Linked DNA regions of Homo sapiens: regions 1 and 2 are each linked to region 3. Evidence: promoter capture Hi-C in 16 types of primary human blood cells and fetal thymus (Javierre and others, 2016). All regions are on one chromosome and are shown on one strand. Each heading gives the region's core, a stretch centred on a gene start or on the middle of the fragment in contact. The rest is flanking DNA. Distances are from core to core; before and after follow the strand shown.

Region 1 (3,902 bases), core at 493-2,992, 96 kb before region 3:
GATATATGATGAAAGAAAATATTTTTGTATAGCCATTCAATGTGTTTGTGTTTTAAGTTGTTATTACAAGAGTCAAAAAGCTAAACAAAATTAAAAGGTTTATGAAGTTAAAAAGTTATAATAAATTGGGTTAATTCATTATTGAAGGAAAACGTTTCCATAAATTTAGTGTTGCCTAAGTGTACAGTGTTTAGTAAGTCTACAGTGGTGTACAGTATGTACTAGGCCTTCACATTCTACCACCACTCACTCACTGACTCACTTCAAGGCCTGGAATCTCCATTCATGGTAAGTGCCCTACACAGGTGTATCACTTTTTATCCTTTCTACTGCATTTTTACTGTACTTGTTCTATGTTTAAATATGTTTAGATAAACAAATACCCAAAATTGGGTAACACCTGCATACAGTATTCAATACAATAACATGTGTACAGATTTGTACCCTAAGTACAAATAGGCTATACCACATAGCCTAGGTGTGTAATAGGCTATACCATCTAGGTTTGTGTAAGTACACTCTATGATGTCCACACAAAGACAAAATCACCTAATGACGCATCTCTCAGAACATATCCTTGTCACAAAGCAATCATGGCTATGTTCTGCAGACTGCTCAGTAGCAAACGATGAAAAATACCCTAATCCTCTACCAGTACACAGTGGTCAAATTACAGTACCTCAAAGTGTGGAATAACACACAGTCATGAAAACTGGAACACAGTTTTAAAAAAAGCAAACAGGCGGGCAGATCACTTGAGGTCAGGAATTCGAGAGCAGTCGGGCCAATGTGGTGAAACCCTGCCTCTACTAAGAATACAAAAATTAGCCAGGCATGGTGGTGCACACCTGTAGTCCCAGCTACTCAGGAGGCTGAGGTGGGAGAAGTGCTTCAACTCAGGAGGCGGAGGTTGCAGTGAGCCGAGATCGCACCATTGCACTCCAGCCTGGGTGACAGAGCGAGCGAGACTCCACCTCACAAAAAAAAAAAAAAAAAAAGCAAACATGAAAAAAAGCAAGCCCAGTTTCTCAGTCCATTTTGGGTTGCTATAAAAGAATACTTGAGGCTGGGTAATCTACAAAGCAAAAAGGTTTATTTGGCTCACAATTCTAATGGCTGTAAAGTTTATGACTGGGCATCTGCATCTGATGAAGGAATCAGGCTGCTTTCAGTCATGGCAGAAGGTGAAGGGGAACCAGTATGCAGCGATCACATGGCAAGAAAGGAAGCAAGGTTGGAGGTGTGCTGGTTCTTTTTAAAAACCAGCTCTCTAGGGAACTAACAAAGTGAGAAGTCACGTCTACTCCAGGGAGGGCATTAATTTAATCCATTCAAGAGGAATCTACTCCCATGACCCAACCATCTCCCATTATGCCCCACCTCCAACACCAGGGATCAAATCTCAACATGAGTTTGGAGGGCACAACATCCAAACCACAGCACGCAGGAAAAGGGCTATAGTGTACCCAAAGTCTCCAAAAGAAGAACCTGTCTCTTGGGTGTATAAGAAGACATTCTAAGGGGTACACAGAAACATAGGTTTAAGATCAACACCCACATGCTCCTACTGATCTGCCTGAGAACTAGCACAAGCTCAAGGCATCAGACTGATCTCTCCTCATCTCCACTTCTCACAACTGCCCTTGTCTTATATACAGGCATCTCCTCTCAACCACCCTAAATCTTACTGCAGAACTTGGGTGAAACATGGGGAGTAAAAACCTCCAGGATACCAAACAAAGGGACCATTGGTGACAAAAGAGAAATACAATACAGGTCTCTGAGAAGCCTCTAACCCAGATATCAAAAAGTTTCACAGTAGGGTTTTGTGTCCTATACATACTTCAGCCTGGGCAACATGGTGAAACTTGTCTCTACTGAAAATACAAAAATTAGCCGGGCATGGTGGCACATATCTGTAATCCCAACTACTCCAGAAGCTGAGGCAGGAGAATCGCTTGAACCTGGAAGGCAGAGGTTGCAGTAAGCCGAGATGGCACCACTGCACGCCAGCCTGGGTGAAAGAGCAAAACTCTCTCTCAAAAAAACAAAAATCCAAAAAGAGGTGGTTACCTTACAGATGTACAGTACTCATTTATTAAAATTGGAAAAAAGGAGTCAGACTTTCTGGCAGAAAATCAGTGTTATTTATTTAGCTGCCTGGTTTGTCAGGGAAGACTGGCTTTGCCATTAAGGTTACTGGTGATAATTTTCCACAACTGAACAAATTAAATCCACAGTTCCAAGAATTAGATGAAAATATATTTAAATAGTTTATAATTATATTAAAATTTGCATCATGTATTTAAATACATATTTAAGTATGTACATGATCTAAGAGTTAAACATTTACCGGACATAAATTTAAAACACAAACGTATATTTTAATGAACATTACTTCATTACTTCAACTTTCCCAAACCTTTGAGTATACTGGTTGAAATAAGGTGCCGATGATGGTTTTATGTGTCAAACTATCTAAACTATAGTACCTAGTCATTCAATCAAAATCTAATTTAGATATTGTTATGAAAATATTTTGTAGATATGAGTAACATCAGCTGACTCGAAGTTAAGAAGATTGGCCTCCACAATCAGGGTGGGCCTCATCCAATCAGTAAAAGGCCCTAAGTGCAAAACTAAGGCTTCCCTGAAGAAGAAATGTCCACCTAACAGACAGCCTCCCTGTGGATTTCAGACTTGCCTAGCCAGCCCCAGCAATTATGTAAACCAGTTCCTTGCAAAAAAAATCTCTTTATATGTATATAAACCTGTTGAAAATTTTATATAGCATATATATATATGTATAATACATACATGTGTATACATGCATACATATGTGTCTGTATATTTATACACATACATAATCTCCATCTGGTTCTCTTTCTCGGGTAAAACACTAATTGATACACCTATAGGGATAGGTGAATAGTAAGAAGTATAATTAATAATCTTTTGTTAGGTCTCAGTAAAACCTTTTTACTTTGCTTCTCAGAAAATGAGAATGCAAAGGGCCCTAATGACTTGTTAAAAAACCTAAATCTCTTCCATGTCTGCTGGTTTCAAATTATCTGCTTCTAGCAAAACTGAAAGAAGACCTAATTGAATTGTCAGCTGCTAAATCATTAAAAATCCTTTATTGTCAATGACTGCTATATGCTTTTTCAAACACAGTTGAGAAGAACAAAGAACTGACACCTTTATAAGCTCTAAGGGCAGAGATTTCGGTAGCTTTGTTCACCACTCATCACCAGTACTTAGTAGAATGTCCAGTACACAGCAGGAGCTCAAAATACATTTGGTAAATGAATACATAGTAAAACTCCACCATTCTGATCTACTTACTTACATGTAAAAATTTTGTTAGAATCTACATGTATATAAATCAAACATGAGGAACAGAATGAAAGCTAAACCTGTCTCATTCTAGCAATGAGGTATATTATTTCAAGGATTCATTAAGCTAATTGGAGTGAGAGGAAGCCCCACTAAGCTTAAGATTTCCTATGAAAATGTCACACTTTTAGTTTTACTAATTATCAAAAATTTTACAATGTATACTATTATTATAAAAATCCAAGGAAAAATGTTAAGACTCTGAGCCTTATGAACTCAGAAAATGTAAATAGTTTTACATTTTAATTTACATAGGCATTTCTGTTGCAGTGATTCATAAGATAATTAATATAATTTGCAAGCATAAAAAACATTAGGTTAGTACACCAGGGACACCTGGAACCCCAGCACCTTAGGAGGCCAAGGTGGGCAGATCACTTGAGGCCAGGAGTTCAAGACCAATCTGGCCAACACAGCAAAAACCCATCTCTACAAAAAATGCAAAAATTAGCTGGGTGTGGTGGGGCACGCCTGTGATCCCAGCTACTCGGGTGGCTGAAGCAGGA
Region 2 (3,503 bases), core at 844-3,343, 72 kb before region 3:
AAACTCCCTTCCTAGGCCACCCTAACTGCGTCATCGTTTACCCCAAAACTGGGCTGAGCAGAACCAACTGTCCAACACCCAGATGGAGGCCCTGGCTCTAGACGGGCACTGTATATGCAGGGCCTGTTCTGCTGGGAAAAGGGACCTTTAGGAGTGAGGGGCTTCCTTTGTCCATGGGGGAACAGGGCCCTACAGTTCACAATCACCACCACCCCCAAACAGAGGAGATTGTATTCAATCAGTTTCATGTCGATGGACACTTAACTGGTTACGTGCCTAAAGCTTCTAAATGGTTATTGTCCCAGGCCAATTCTCTAAACAACCTCTGTTTTCACGGCCTTCCTACTCTCACAGATACAAAAAAAAAAAAACAACGTTGAATCTTAGCTGGCGATCCCCCAAATGAACACAAATAACTTTCTTTAGAGAAGCCAGTCCATTCCAAAGTACTCCCAGACATTGCTGCATAATAAACACGAAGAAGATTTCTTGGTGTGGTGGCTTGTTTGGAATGTGTGGTGATACACAGCTGTGTGCTGTCGACTCTGGGTTTAAGGTCTGTGCGGGGCTAAGAGGTGCCCCCAGAAAAGAAGGTTGTGTTTTGGTGGTTTGGTGATGACATTTGTGATGGTCACTTATCACAAAGTATTGAGATGAAAAAACTGTGCATAGCTGAGGCAAAATATAAAAATAAAAAATAAAGCACTATTGAATTACATTGACTCTATGACCTGTTTCCTCGTCTATAAAATGGGGACGTGAGTTCCCCCTTCACAGGTGTGGTAAGGATCAGTTGCGATGATATCTGAAAATGCTTTGTAAACCAGGGAACACAGAGCACCATGCAAATAACAGGTGTCTCTTGCTTTCTTTTTAACCCCAGAAAACCACAGATTCCCAAGGGTTCTCTGCTGTGTGTCAAATTCTGAGCCATGTGTCAAATTCTGACCCAAAGAAGAAAGCAAAAGTGTTCTGTTCCACACATTGCATAGCTGTCATTCAACATTTACCAGAGATCCCACCAAAAACATTCTGACAAAACTGACATCACTCCATTTCTGAGCTGACACATAAATAGGGTTGAATAATTCACCTGGAATCACACAGTAAACTGGCAGCAATTTTGGGATTATGAATCAGCCCTTTCCTCTGGCCTAGAATGTTCTGAACCACAGTGTTTCTCCAAGTACAAAAGCCACCTAGAAACCATAAAGTGCAAAGAAGTGGATCACAAGCTTTAGGATGTTTTCCCATTAATTTTTCATAAGCAATTTCTCCTCCTTCGAAATCTTTCCCTGTTTTTGTTAATTCATTGTGTGCCTGTCTCATTTCCCAAGCTTAGTGCTCTTGCCAGGTGTTTATGATGACTGTGCTAACCACAATAAATGGTGAAAGATGCCGAGAAAACTCCTCCCTATGTCCCCTTAGGAACAGCCTCATCCAGAAGCCCCCCATGAAAGGCCTCAAAGACTTGAAGGGGACTAGCAGGAGGTAATGATGGTGGCAGGCCTTAGAACCGTTTTTTGCTCTAGATTCTATATATTAGTCTCTTCCATGTCCAGCTCCTAGGCCAATGTCCTCTACATTTCTGAGCTGACACAGTAGATGCTCAGTATCTGAAGAATAAATACCAACAAATCGTGGACTCAAAGAATCAGAAGAGCTGAATACAAGGACTTTGTGAAACTTTTATATGTCCTAATTCCAGAGAGGTTCACACATAAAGGAGTTCAGCAAATGTTTGTAGATTGAAAGAAACCTTTCAACCAAAGACGGGTGGAAAGCCTGCACCTTTAAAAAAGCAAAGGCGCCTCTCCCTTCTTAGCTACATGGTTTAGACCACAAACTTGTCATCAACCAGCCCTAACTTCACTCCTAGTTTGGCAGTTTAACTATAAAGACCTTGAGCAAGTTACTTAACCCCTCTGAGCCTCAAGAGGGGTTACAAAATATGACTACTGGTTGATACCTACCTCAAAGGCTTATGGTAGAAAAAAAAATTTTTTTTGAGACGGAGTTTCGCTCTCGCTGCCCAGGCTGGAGTGCAATGGCACGATTCGGATTCGGCTCACTGCAAGCTCCACCTCCGAGGCTCAAGCAATTCTCCTGCCTCAGCCTCCCAAGCAGCTGGGACTACAGGTGCCCATCACCACGTCTGGCTAATTTTTGTATTTTTAGTAGAGACAGGGTTTCACCATGTTGGCCACACTGGTCTGGAACTCCTGACCTCAAGTGATCTGCCTGCCCAGCCTCCCAAAATGCTGGGATTACAGGCATGAGCCACCATGCCCAGCCTGGTAAAATTTAAATATAGAAGGTGTTTGGCACTTGTTGGGCGCTTCATATGCGTTAGGTCCCTTCTCTCTATTCCAGTTATTCTCATCACTAAGGAAGAAGTGTCTCTCAGGCCATGCCAGAAATCCCAGGGCAAATCCAGCCCTTCCATGGATGAAATTTCCTTGCACAGTTGTTGCAATTAAAGAACCACATACAAGGTAGTTCTTTACCATTTAGTTGAAGAGAAGTGGATGCAGCAAGAAAGCTATAGGTGGCTAGGCATGGTGGCTCACGCCTGTAATCCCAGCATTTTGGGAGGCCAAGGCAGGAGGATCATTTGAGCCTAGGCAACATGGCAAGACCCCACCTCTACCAAAAAAAAAAAAAAAAAGTTAGCCAGTTGGTGCGCACCTATGGTCCTGGCTACTCTGGAAGAGACTGAGGCAGGCAAATCGCTTGAGCCCAGGAGGTAGAGGCTGTGAGCCATGTTTATGCCCCTGCACTCTAGCCTGGGTAATAGAGCAAGACTCTGTCTCAAAATAAATAAACAAAAGAAAAAAAAGAAAGCTTTAGGTGAATAGGTAAAATGGAGAGTTGGTTTTTGTCTCAACGTAGGGATGGAGTTTTTATATGTGCGAAAAAATAAAAAGAGATTGGTGCCGGTTGGCTGAGCGCGGTGGCTCACACCTGTAATCCCAGCACTTTGGGAGGCCGAGGCCGGCGGATCATGAGGTCAGGAGTTCGAGACCAGCCTGGTCAATATGGTGAAAACCCATCTCTACTAAAAATACAAAAAATTAGCCGGGCATGGTGGCAAGCGCCTGTAGTCCCAGCTACTCAGGAGGCTGAGGCAGAAGAATCGCTTGAACCCAGGAGGCAGAGATTGCAGTGAGCCAAGATCACACCACTGTGTTCCAGTCTGGGCAACAGAACGAGACTTCATCTCAAAAAAAATAAATTAAAAGAGATTGGTGCTGGCCACAGTCTGGGAGTTCTGTCATACTGAACCCAGGACAGGAGCCTGGAGGTCTAAAATGTAATTAATCTGAAACCAGAGGCCAGGCTTTGGAAAAGGGACTTTATCTTGTTGGTTCGTGTTTTCCATGATTTATTTCTCTCTTCTTTTTCCTTTCATTAACTTCTTCTCTTATTTAGTAAAATTCTTTCAGAAAAGGCCAGTCTGTCTCATATTCTAAGGAGGGCCTGGGTTTTAAAGGCAGAGGAAC
Region 3 (3,977 bases), core at 569-3,068:
TTAGAATGACCCAAAGTGCAAAGGCATCTTCCTGAAATAAAGCTTTCATCAAGCCATTTCTGCTATGGAAACCTCCAGGGATTCCATTGCTTATGGGATCCAATTTAAATGCTGCAGTTGAGATCCCCATTGTTTCAGTGGGCAAGTGCATTATACTTCTTCACAGACTTTAAACCTCCACATTCGAGATTTTGCTACTAGGAATGTTTTGCCCTTTCTCTGTGCCAACTCATGGCCATCAGCACCTCCAATTCTGTCTTGAAACTCACTTTCTTACAGATATTTTTCTTGTTTAATATCTACTTAGTAGATACTAAACAGCAAAGTAGCAGTATCTACCCAGTAGACACTAAATAGCAAAATAGATACTGAATAGCAAACTATTTAGTAGATACTAAAGTAGCAAATAACTCCTGTTTTTGAGCTTTTAATCACATTTAGTGCTCTTAAGATAAATTATCCAAGTCTGGGGATAAACAACTCACAGAGATTTTCATTCTTTAAGAAGCCACCGAGAGTGATTTTACTTAAAAGACAGCACTCACATTTTCAGTTGTCTGCCTTTTCACTAGGAATCCACTTAAGAACCAGCGCAAAAGGACTCCGTTTGGCGACCTCTAGCGGGCACCGGACAATCCTACAAAATTACGAAAAGTAGAGGGCAATGAAAAACTCTTCCCTTTAACCAGCCAGGTTACCCTGTGGTCAGATGACCGCATCTCACCCTACCCCACCCTTATTTTTTTCTTCTAGTATTTGTTTTGCATCTAACACGGTTCGCCTTACAACTCACCTGTCTCGCCTCCGGCGGGCTGGGCTGCCGGTGTCGGGTGTCAGGTGAATGAATTGCTGGTAGCAGTTTAAAATAATCCCTGCCAAGTGGAACCCGCTTTCTGGGCACGGACAAGAGCGCGGGGTAGATCGCTCTGCGGAGCCTTCACGGGGCTCTTCCCGCTCGGAGGGCCGGTGCTGCAGCCGGGTCAGGGGTGCGCGGGGGAAATCAAGATATTTTGAAAAGGAGGATGCAGACGAAGACCAAGAGAAAGGCTGTTTTTGCCGGTGACAAGGCGTTCCTCCCCAGACTTTCATCCCACTCTAAGGGCAGCATCTCGAGAGGGTCCAGGCGCGCTACACGTTAGGCGCCTTCTCAGGACTCGCGCCCCAGAACGTGGGGGCCGGGGCCGGGTCGGGGACCGCTTCCCTCCGCGGGCTGGCAGGCGGCACCGAGGCTGGGGGATGGGGCGTGTAGCCGCCCTCTGAGCACGCGGTACGTGGGTCGCCCCGCGCGGCGGTAGGAAGAGCAAAGTCGGCAGGAAAAGCCGTGGCTGGGATGCCTTCCCTGAGAAATCCTTAGGGGCGATGTCAGAACCCGAGCTGGGCTCCGGACAGTTTCTGGAAAAAGCTCTCCAAACGCCGTCTGTCCCCGCACCCGAGTCCACACTGGGCTTTGAACCAGGGCTGTTAAAAGGGGCCCTGGGGACTGCCCAATTCATCCCGATGGCCCAGGGCAGGACGCGGGAGCAGGCATCCCGGCGCTGGGCTCCCCGCTCCCCCGCCCTGCGGACCCCTCCCCGCCACTACGGGCCGGAGCGGAGGGGGAGGACGGCGTCACGAGGCGGGGAGCCCGAGGTCCAGGGCGGGGCGCCCGGGAATCCCAGCCCGAGCAAGCCGGGGAGGTGCGGGCGCGGGCGGGAAGCGGAGGGCGGCGCGGAGGGAGGTGAGCGGCGCGCGCGGAGCCGGCGGGCGAGGAGGAGGACTGCACAGAGGCCCCGCCCCCGCCGCCGCGAGCCGGCTCTTCGCCGCCTCCGAACCCGCTCACTTTGCCTCTCGCCTCTGGACGGCGGCGGGGCGGCCGCCGGATTCGCGGCCGCAGGGAGCGCCGGAGACGGGGAGCTATTCCGCCCCGGCGGCTCCATTCGGCGCCCGCAGCCCTCAGGGGGTCGGCCCCGCGGCTTGGGAGAGGGCACCGCGGCCTCGGTGTGCGCAGCCCTCGGGCGCGAGGGTCGGCGGCGCGGACACAGCCGCGTTCCCAGCCGGTGGGGCTCAGCGCTGGCGCCGGCGAGGACTCCCCGGCCACCCGCAGGTACCGCCGGGCGGAGGGCGCGCTACTAGCAGCGCCGGAGATACTCGAGCCCAGGGACCCCCGGGCCAGCGGAGGGCAGGAGCGGAGCCCCGAGGGAGCGCGGGCCCCGACGGCGCGCTCCCCCGTCAGCCACGGGCAGGCAGGCCCCGCGTGGCGGCTTGGGGTGGGGGGCTGCAGCGGGGCCCTCGGGCCGAAAGTCCCCCGGGCGGCCAGCCATGACCTTCGGGCGCAGCGGGGCGGCCTCGGTGGTGCTGAACGTGGGCGGCGCCCGGTATTCGCTGTCCCGGGAGCTGCTGAAGGACTTCCCGCTGCGCCGCGTGAGCCGGCTGCACGGCTGCCGCTCCGAGCGCGACGTGCTCGAGGTGTGCGACGACTACGACCGCGAGCGCAACGAGTACTTCTTCGACCGGCACTCGGAGGCCTTCGGCTTCATCCTGCTCTACGTGCGCGGCCACGGCAAGCTGCGCTTCGCGCCGCGGATGTGCGAGCTCTCCTTCTACAACGAGATGATCTACTGGGGCCTGGAGGGCGCGCACCTCGAGTACTGCTGCCAGCGCCGCCTCGACGACCGCATGTCCGACACCTACACCTTCTACTCGGCCGACGAGCCGGGCGTGCTGGGCCGCGACGAGGCGCGCCCCGGCGGGGCCGAGGCGGCTCCCTCCAGGCGCTGGCTGGAGCGCATGCGGCGGACCTTCGAGGAGCCCACGTCGTCGCTGGCCGCGCAGATCCTGGCTAGCGTGTCGGTGGTGTTCGTGATCGTGTCCATGGTGGTGCTGTGCGCCAGCACGTTGCCCGACTGGCGCAACGCAGCCGCCGACAACCGCAGCCTGGATGACCGGAGCAGGTACTCCGCCGGCCCTGGGAGGGAGCCCTCCGGGTAGGACGCACTGCTTCTCTACCCGTCCCGTCCGTCCTGTCGCGTCTGTCCGTCCCGTCCATACGTCCCGTCTCCGTCCTGTCCGCCTCCGGGCGACCGAGCCAGCGGGGTGCGCGCCCAGCGAGGCCCAGGCGCGGCCAACTACGGGACCGGTCGGTCCCCACTCCTACCCCGTTGTCCGGGGCACCAGCGGGGTCTGGCCCTTACACTAGACGCACCTCTTGAGGGCGAAATCCTCAGGCATGGGGAGGGGCGTGTAGAGATAGACAAATGTCCCCTCTTTGTAGTTTACTTTTGCGCAGAGAGCAACCTGCTAATTACATTTTTCTGAACTTTTATTGTTAGGGTTCAACAATTAAGCCTTGAACTAAGCGCAGTTTGAATTATTTGCCAATTTTTGGTAGTGTTTGGAAAGATGGATTCTTGTTATGGTGAAATGTGCACTCTCCACACATTCTATACACTCTGCCCCCGGCATACTATGTGCTGTAATGGAATCGTTATATTATAAAGCAGGTTAATTTATCGATAGACTCTAAATAATGGATGTCTGTGCCCTTTTCTTCCCCCTTTTCCTACAAAGTATGGAGTTAGCAAACCTCTTGTCCACCGTTTGGTAGCAAAGATTCACACTGCGACTTTCAGAGGGTCTATGATATGGGAAGGGAAAAAACCATTACCTTGAGAACAAAGAAAAATCTAAACTGTCCTAAATCCAGAAAACAGTATTTGGGTAAATTTTTTTTTCTACTTTACTAGGATGAATGGGAAAATATTGCAGTCTTTTCTTAGACTGTCTTACCTTGAAGTGGTGATAGCACTTTCCTGTTTTTAGTACAAGTGAGCATATTCAGTGGGAGGAATAAGCAGACTAAGGATGGACTTTCAAAGAAGACAGCCTTTTGGGGCACAAAACCCAAACTGCATATTATAGTTTATCTGTTTGACACTGTCTTAAGATCCTCCTTCCATTCATTTTTTAAATTTAAGGTTGTGCCCTGTCATGTTTTACTG

The links. The method cuts DNA at HindIII sites, captures the fragments that hold promoters and counts their contacts. A CHiCAGO score of 5 or more calls a contact.
Region 1: a contact is called between a fragment that was not itself captured here and the fragment with the promoter of KCNG3 in region 3, in 1 of 17 cell types (fetal thymus). The highest score is 7.5, in fetal thymus.
Region 2: a contact is called between a fragment that was not itself captured here and the fragment with the promoter of KCNG3 in region 3, in 1 of 17 cell types (fetal thymus). The highest score is 14.0, in fetal thymus.

Annotation. Positions count from the first base shown.
Region 1 is chr2:42,587,710-42,591,611 of GRCh38, reverse strand. The region is part of intron 3 of MTA3 (metastasis associated 1 family member 3); the gene reads right to left. All of the region lies in intron 2 of LOC105374555 (a long non-coding RNA gene), which reads left to right. Among named protein-coding and RNA genes, the nearest start is that of MTA3, 21 kb to the right of the region's middle. The HindIII fragment of the contact is 3,506 bases long and covers 1-3,495 here.
Region 2 is chr2:42,564,515-42,568,017 of GRCh38, reverse strand. It overlaps a transcript of MTA3 not described here. Among named protein-coding and RNA genes, the nearest start is that of MTA3, 2.4 kb to the left of the region's middle. RefSeq lists an enhancer at 1-138. The HindIII fragment of the contact is 1,507 bases long and covers 1,340-2,846 here.
Region 3 is chr2:42,491,823-42,495,799 of GRCh38, reverse strand. KCNG3 (potassium voltage-gated channel modifier subfamily G member 3) reads left to right here and starts at 1,818. Exons shown (of 2, transcript NM_133329.6): 1 at 1,818-2,963. The coding sequence starts at 2,299. It also overlaps a transcript of MTA3 not described here. RefSeq lists enhancers at 497-791, 2,116-2,873, 2,874-3,631 and silencers at 1,546-1,625, 1,716-1,765, 1,946-2,035. The HindIII fragment of the contact is 17,203 bases long and covers 45-3,977 here.